Regions from separate parts of the Homo sapiens genome. Here region 2 is linked to region 1. Evidence: promoter capture Hi-C in 16 types of primary human blood cells and fetal thymus (Javierre and others, 2016). All regions are on one chromosome and are shown on one strand. The core of a region is centred on a gene start or on the middle of the fragment in contact, and the rest is flanking DNA. Distances in the headings are between cores, read along the strand shown. Region 1 overlaps AHI1-DT (AHI1 divergent transcript). Region 2 holds the start of PDE7B-AS1 (PDE7B antisense RNA 1).

Region 1 (3,071 bases), core at 250-2,749:
TCCATGACACTATTGGAGAGGGTTCTGGAGCCATAACAGATGGAATGAATGGGCCTTGTTTGGATTCTAATTTAAATAAACCAACTATAGAAAAACATGTTTTAGGCAATCAGATTTTTTGTTATGGGCTAAATATTTAGAAGATGTTAAGAAATGTTTATTAATTTCATTAGGTAAAATAATGTTGGTGTGGTTATGTAGAGTATGACTTACGTGCACAGAACAGAATGATAAGGTGTCCAGGATTTGCTTTAAAATATTCTAGATTTTTTTAAAAGGTGAGAGGAAATGACACATGTATATCTAAATTTTGATGGTTGTTGAAGCTGGCTGGTAGGTACCTAGTATTTCATTATACTTTTTCCTTTGTGTGTTTGGAAATTTTTATAATAAGCAGGAAAAATAAAAGTAAGAATATATGTATTATAGATAATTTGAAATATGTAGAATCATGAAAAAAAGGAAAAAATACTCAATACCACTACCCAAGAGAATCTAAATTAACTTTTTTGACAAATTTCGTTTCAGTCTGTTTTCCATGCGTATTTTAATTTTGGTCATGTTGTGTGTAAAATGTTTATTTCTGCTTACTTGAATGAACATTATGTTGCAATTTCATTTCCATGCTATTACAATAGTGCCCCCTTAACCATGGTTTTGCTTTCTGAGGTTTCACTCAACAAGCTTGGTTTGAAAATTTTTAGAGAGAAAATAAGAGATTACATTTACATAATAACTATTAATACAGTATATTGTTATAAAAACTTTATATTGTTATTAGTTATTGCTGTTAATCTCTTACTGGGCCTAATTTATAAATTAAACTTTATGAGAGGTGTGAAAGTTGATTATAGAAATTGGGTCATTCTTGTTGTACCCAACTAAATCAGAGTGAAGGGCCCAGGGGAAAAAGCATTTGGGGCATATAGCATCTGCTCCAAGAATTAAATTTTCCACAAGCCCAGCTACTGAAACTGCCTGTTGTAATCTGAAATCAGTTTTATCTGATAGCTAATGAAATAACCTGCTGTGACACTAAGATTAGTTTTACCCACTGCCATCACTCGCCAATCAGAGCTCGCCAGCTCCCCAAATGTTACCCATTGTTTCTTTGCAAAACAATGGGTAACATTTTTCCTTTTTATAAAACCTCCAACCTGATCTTTGTTTTTCAGACATACTGAAGACCACCCATTCTGTGTGTTTGCCTGGAAATGCAATTCTCATTTCCCAAATAAAATGTTTGAAATGTGGAAATTTGACTCTATGTTTTATTTGACTTTGAGAAAGGCATGCAAGTATAGTAAATACAGGCTTTGCTACTACCTGTAGTTTCAGACATCCACTGGGGATCTTGGAACATATCCCATGCAGATAAGAAGGAGATGCTGTATATATCACCACTTAATCATCACTGGAAATTCTAACTTTGTTAGTAATGTTCTTATGTGCACGTGGAAAAATTTCAAACAATCGTTCAGATATTTATAATGTGGTAACCGAAAGTCAGCCGTGTTTTTAATCACTGATCAGTCTTCTATACATTCTTTCATACTTCCATTCATACATATACTAAATATACTAAATTATAAAGATAACTTCTTACCATAGATTTTGTCCTGTCATCTTGTTTTTGTCCTTTATCAAGTATTATTATTTCTAAAAGGCTTTTTATGTCAGTAACATATATCTACCCCATTCATTTTAATGGCTTTATGCTATATCACTTCTAATCCAAAGTGTTTTTAAGCAATTATAGTGAAAGTGTCAAAAGGTGATATGGTGGCTTTTAAAAAATAAGATACTTTTCTTATAAGTCTCTCATATTATTATTTATTCCTCAGCATTTTATAGATTTTTGGTGCTATTTTGAATGCATCCAATTCTTATTACATTTTCTAACCGGTGATTGCACATTTTCCTGCTTTTCCTCTTTCTAGGGCTCCTTTACTAGTTCATGCCTATCACCTTGACCTCTTGATATTGGAATGTCCCAGAGGTATGTTCCTGGACTTCTCTATCTACACGTACTCACTCAGTGATTTCTTACAGTTCTATAGTCCCACTGTCATGTAGACTACTCCCAAATATATCCCTTCTGCCCATTATTCTTCCTTGAACTTCAGACTCATAAATCTAACTGTATATTACATGTCTCCACTTAGATGTCCGACATATTCTCAAACTTAACTTTTCTAACACTGAATTCCTCATCTGCCTCCTCAAATCCCCACTTTCTCCATCTCAAGCAATGACAACTCCATTCTTCCAGTTACTCAAGCCAAACACCAAATACATTGGAGTAACTGTTAAATCAAGCTTAGCCTAAAACTACCTCCTTACATATTTTAAATTCAGCCTAAATGTTTCTTTGTACATCTTAAACTATAACAAGTAGAAGTGTAACCAGATGTAGCCTACACTTGGGCCAATCACCAAGTTTTGGCCAATCAAATGTCGTCAACTATTCAAACCATGTTTAAATAAGGCAAACACAAAGCTGTAACCAATCCAGCTGGTTCTGTACCTCACTTCCATTTTCTGTGCCTCACTCCTTTTTCTGTCCATAAATCTTCCAGCACATGGCTGCGCTGGAGTCTCCGAGCCTACTCTGTCTGGGAAGGCTGTCTGATTTGCAAATCATTCACTGCTCAATTAAATTCCTTTAAATTTAATTCAGTTAAAGTTTTTCTTTTATCATAACCTTTGACCTTTCTCCTTTTCTTATACCCCATATCCAACCTATCAGATTACTATAGGTTCGAACCCAAATCCTATGAAACAGAGGATATGGTTATAATTTTGAGGGAAGATTTTTTTTTTCTCTACCTGAACTTTAGCCCCTACAAACAAACTTCCTTGTTTATCTTTGCTGCTGTAATCTTTTAAGGGTTCCACTTTTATGCAAACATCTTAGTTCTCACACTGAGCAAGGCCTTGAATCCTATGCTTTGGGAGGCCATTGCATTCTAAGACTACATTCCTGGCATCAGCAAGTGCCCCTCTAGTAAAAATGCCCTCAGCCCCTACTTTCCACTCTTGTTTTAGTTCTTTCTTCTCTTTGGCCCCCG
Region 2 (3,071 bases), core at 234-2,733, 570 kb after region 1:
GCCTTGTAGCTCAGCTGCCATCGTCTCTGTAGCCAACCTCAGCCTTCACCTCAGCATTGCACAAAGTTCAGAATCACTAACATATCAGAAAGGTTGGACAAGAGGAAAAGTAAACTGGAAACACACACACACGTGTGTATACATAAGTTTAATTCTGAAGTATTGAGAATTTTATTTTCAAAGTGCTAGAAAGGCAACAGAGAGATAGTTCATTTCACCATTACAGAAACACCAAGAAATTATAAACTTCTCTGGATGTCAGTTTTCTTACTGGAAAAATTATGTTAAAATTATATCACTCTAGCCAAGTGTAGTGGTGCATGCCTGTAGTCCCAGCTACTAGGGAGGCTAAGGTGGGAGGATCGCTTGAGGCCAAAAGTTCGAGGCTTCACTGAGCTATGATCACACCACTGCACTCCAGCCTGGGCAACTGAGCAAGATTCCACTCAATAAATTAATAAATGAGTGCAGCATTCTAATGTTTTAAGGATTAAATGACATGATCATATAACAATGCCTAACAAGGTACACAGTGCAGTAACAAGTAAATGTATTTTAGCTTTTTTCCTTGGTTTCCATTAACATTTTTTTCCTTCAGTTAGTCATTCTAAAAATATTTATTAAGCATCTATTATGTTTTAAGAATTAAATGAGGTGACCCTACAACAGTGCCTTAAAAGGTACACAGCACAAAAACTAAATATATTTTAGCTTCTTCCCTCAGTCCCCTTTAACATTTTTTTCATTCAGTCAGTCATTCTACAAATATTTATTGAGCATTTATTATGTAGCAGGCATCATAATTTGTCTTGAATATATAATGGCAAATACAATAAACACAGTTCCTGCCCTTAATGGGGAAAACAGAAAATAAATAGGCGGGGAGGCGAGGAGAGAGAAAGACAAATCGAAATTGTCCTAAGTTCTGTGAAGGACCTAAACAGGGTACAGGGAGAGGAAATGGTGGGAGAGGGGCACCTGGTTAGATAGCTCATGGCATAGCTGATACTTTAATTTTGTTTTTTAAGTAGAGATGAGTTCTTGCTGTGTTGCCCAGGCTGCTCTTGAACTCCTGGGCTCAAGCGATCCTCCTGCCCTGGCCTACTAAAGTGCTGGGATTCTGGGTGTAAGCCACCTTGCCCAGCCCTGTTTATTTTTCTATTGATCTTAAGAAAGAAAAAGATGTCTTCTAATAACTATTTTACCTTAATCAGTTTTAAGACAAGCTTTGCAGAGCTCCATGACCCTCTGAAGAGACCGTGGCCACCTTGTAGGTTAGAGTATTTCGGACAGATGGCTGTACTACTGAGAGCTTTTCTGGACATGGCCGTTCTGGCTAACTTTCATCTTGTCATTACATTTCCTTTTCTGAGAAAGGTTGCAAGGGTGGTTTTGACAGAGTGATGCTGTTGGTATTTAGAATCCTGACTTTCTTGATCCTTTTCGGTGGAGCTGCGGGACACATGTGCGATGGAAACTGGCCTGGTTGCCATGGTGGATAGTGTTCTGACAACAGTCACATGGGTCAGGTGTCCGTTTTGGATCTTTCAGGCCTGTCAGCAGCTCCTGATAAAGCTAGCCATGTGGTTTTTCTTGGCTCACCTGTATATCCTGGTAGGAACAGCTAAGAGCCACTCAACGCACCCTTCTCTTTTTGGAGAAACCCCAGGGAGTTGTGTTGCTTGGGGCTGGGCCGCTTGGAGACCATGTTCTTTGTCTTTTTGGCCTGCTCTCGGGGCTAAGGAGCATTGATGGAATATCTGAGATGGTGGCGTCGGCAGGGATGGCCATGCTGAAGTCTGTTCATATCACACAACTAGGGCCACAAGCAAAGTCCTCCATCTGAATGACATTCAGGGACAGTCCATAAACTCAACGTGTGCACAGAGTGCCTCCGTACGCCATGCATTGTGACAGGTCCTGGGGTAACAGATCTGAAAGACTCCTTCTTTGTGTGTAAAGAACATGATTGGGTTAATTAAGTAAAAGTGAATATTTTCTTTACTGAGTCATAAAATTACGGGCATATGTCTTAATCAGCTAAGGCTGTCATAACACAGCACCATAAACTCAATGGCTTAAACAACAGAAACTGATTTTCTCACAGTCTTACAGGCTGAAAGTCCAGGATCAAGGCATCTGTGGAGTTGGTTTCTTCTGAGGCCTCTCCCCTCGGCTTGTAGATGTCACTTCTATGGTCTTCCCTCTGGGCCTGTGTCCTAATTTTCTCTTCATACAAGTGCACTAGTCATAATGGATTAGGGCCTACTCCAGTGGCCTCATCTAACTTAACTGCCTTTTAAAAGACCCCATCTCCATATAGGTCACATTCTGAGGTGCTTGGGTTAGGATTTTAACATACGAATTTGGCAGGGGACACACTCTAGCCCATAACAGCATTTTTACAGCCACACATAGTAAAAATCTGGAAATACACCACCACATGTATCAGAGTATAAGTGGCAAAGGTTGATCATGATACGTATCTCTCAGTTGAGAATTTCAGCGTGATTTCTAAAAACTTGTTGTGAAAGTACAATGCGCAGAAAACTGAAATTTCACCAAAAGTCCCATATCTGAAGCAAATAAAAAAATTTAGTTCCCATATTCTTTCCAATAGAAATAATTCCTTCGTGGAGAATTTATGCCTATCTCGTTCCTATGACAAAAAGGAATTTGGCCAGCCTGGCCAACATGGTGAAACCCTGTCTGTACTAAAAATACAAAAAAATGAACTGGGCACGGTGGCACACACCTGTAATCCCAGCTACTTGGGTAAAAGAATTACCTGAGGTAAAAGAATCATTTGAACCCAGGAGGTGGATGTTGCAGTGAGCCAAGATCGCACCACTGCACTCTATCCTGGGTGACAGAGAGACCTTGTCTCAAAAAAAAAAAAAGGCGGGGGGGATTTGGGGTTTTTTTGTTGTTTAAGGGTTTTTTAATTTTTAATTTTTGTGGGCACATAGTAAGGGTATATATTTATGGGTACATGAGATATTTTGATACAGGCATACAATGCATCATAATCGCATCAAGGTAAATGGGATATCTATCACATCAAGCATTTA

The links. Contacts are between HindIII fragments. The CHiCAGO score rates a contact against its expected background, and 5 or more counts as called.
Region 2: the fragment with the promoter of PDE7B-AS1 here is called in contact with a fragment that was not itself captured in region 1 in 3 of 17 cell types (endothelial precursors, fetal thymus and M1 macrophages); the score reaches 10.5 in endothelial precursors.

The regions. Positions count from the first base shown.
Region 1 is chr6:135,502,876-135,505,946 of GRCh38, forward strand. The region is part of intron 2 of AHI1-DT (AHI1 divergent transcript); the gene reads left to right. Among named protein-coding and RNA genes, the nearest start is that of AHI1-DT, 6.6 kb to the left of the region's middle. The HindIII fragment of the contact is 1,635 bases long and covers 683-2,317 here.
Region 2 is chr6:136,071,344-136,074,414 of GRCh38, forward strand. PDE7B-AS1 (PDE7B antisense RNA 1) reads right to left here and starts at 1,484. Exons shown (of 4, transcript NR_149042.1): 1 at 1,206-1,484. All of the region lies in intron 2 of PDE7B (phosphodiesterase 7B), which reads left to right. The HindIII fragment of the contact is 8,353 bases long and covers 1,225-3,071 here.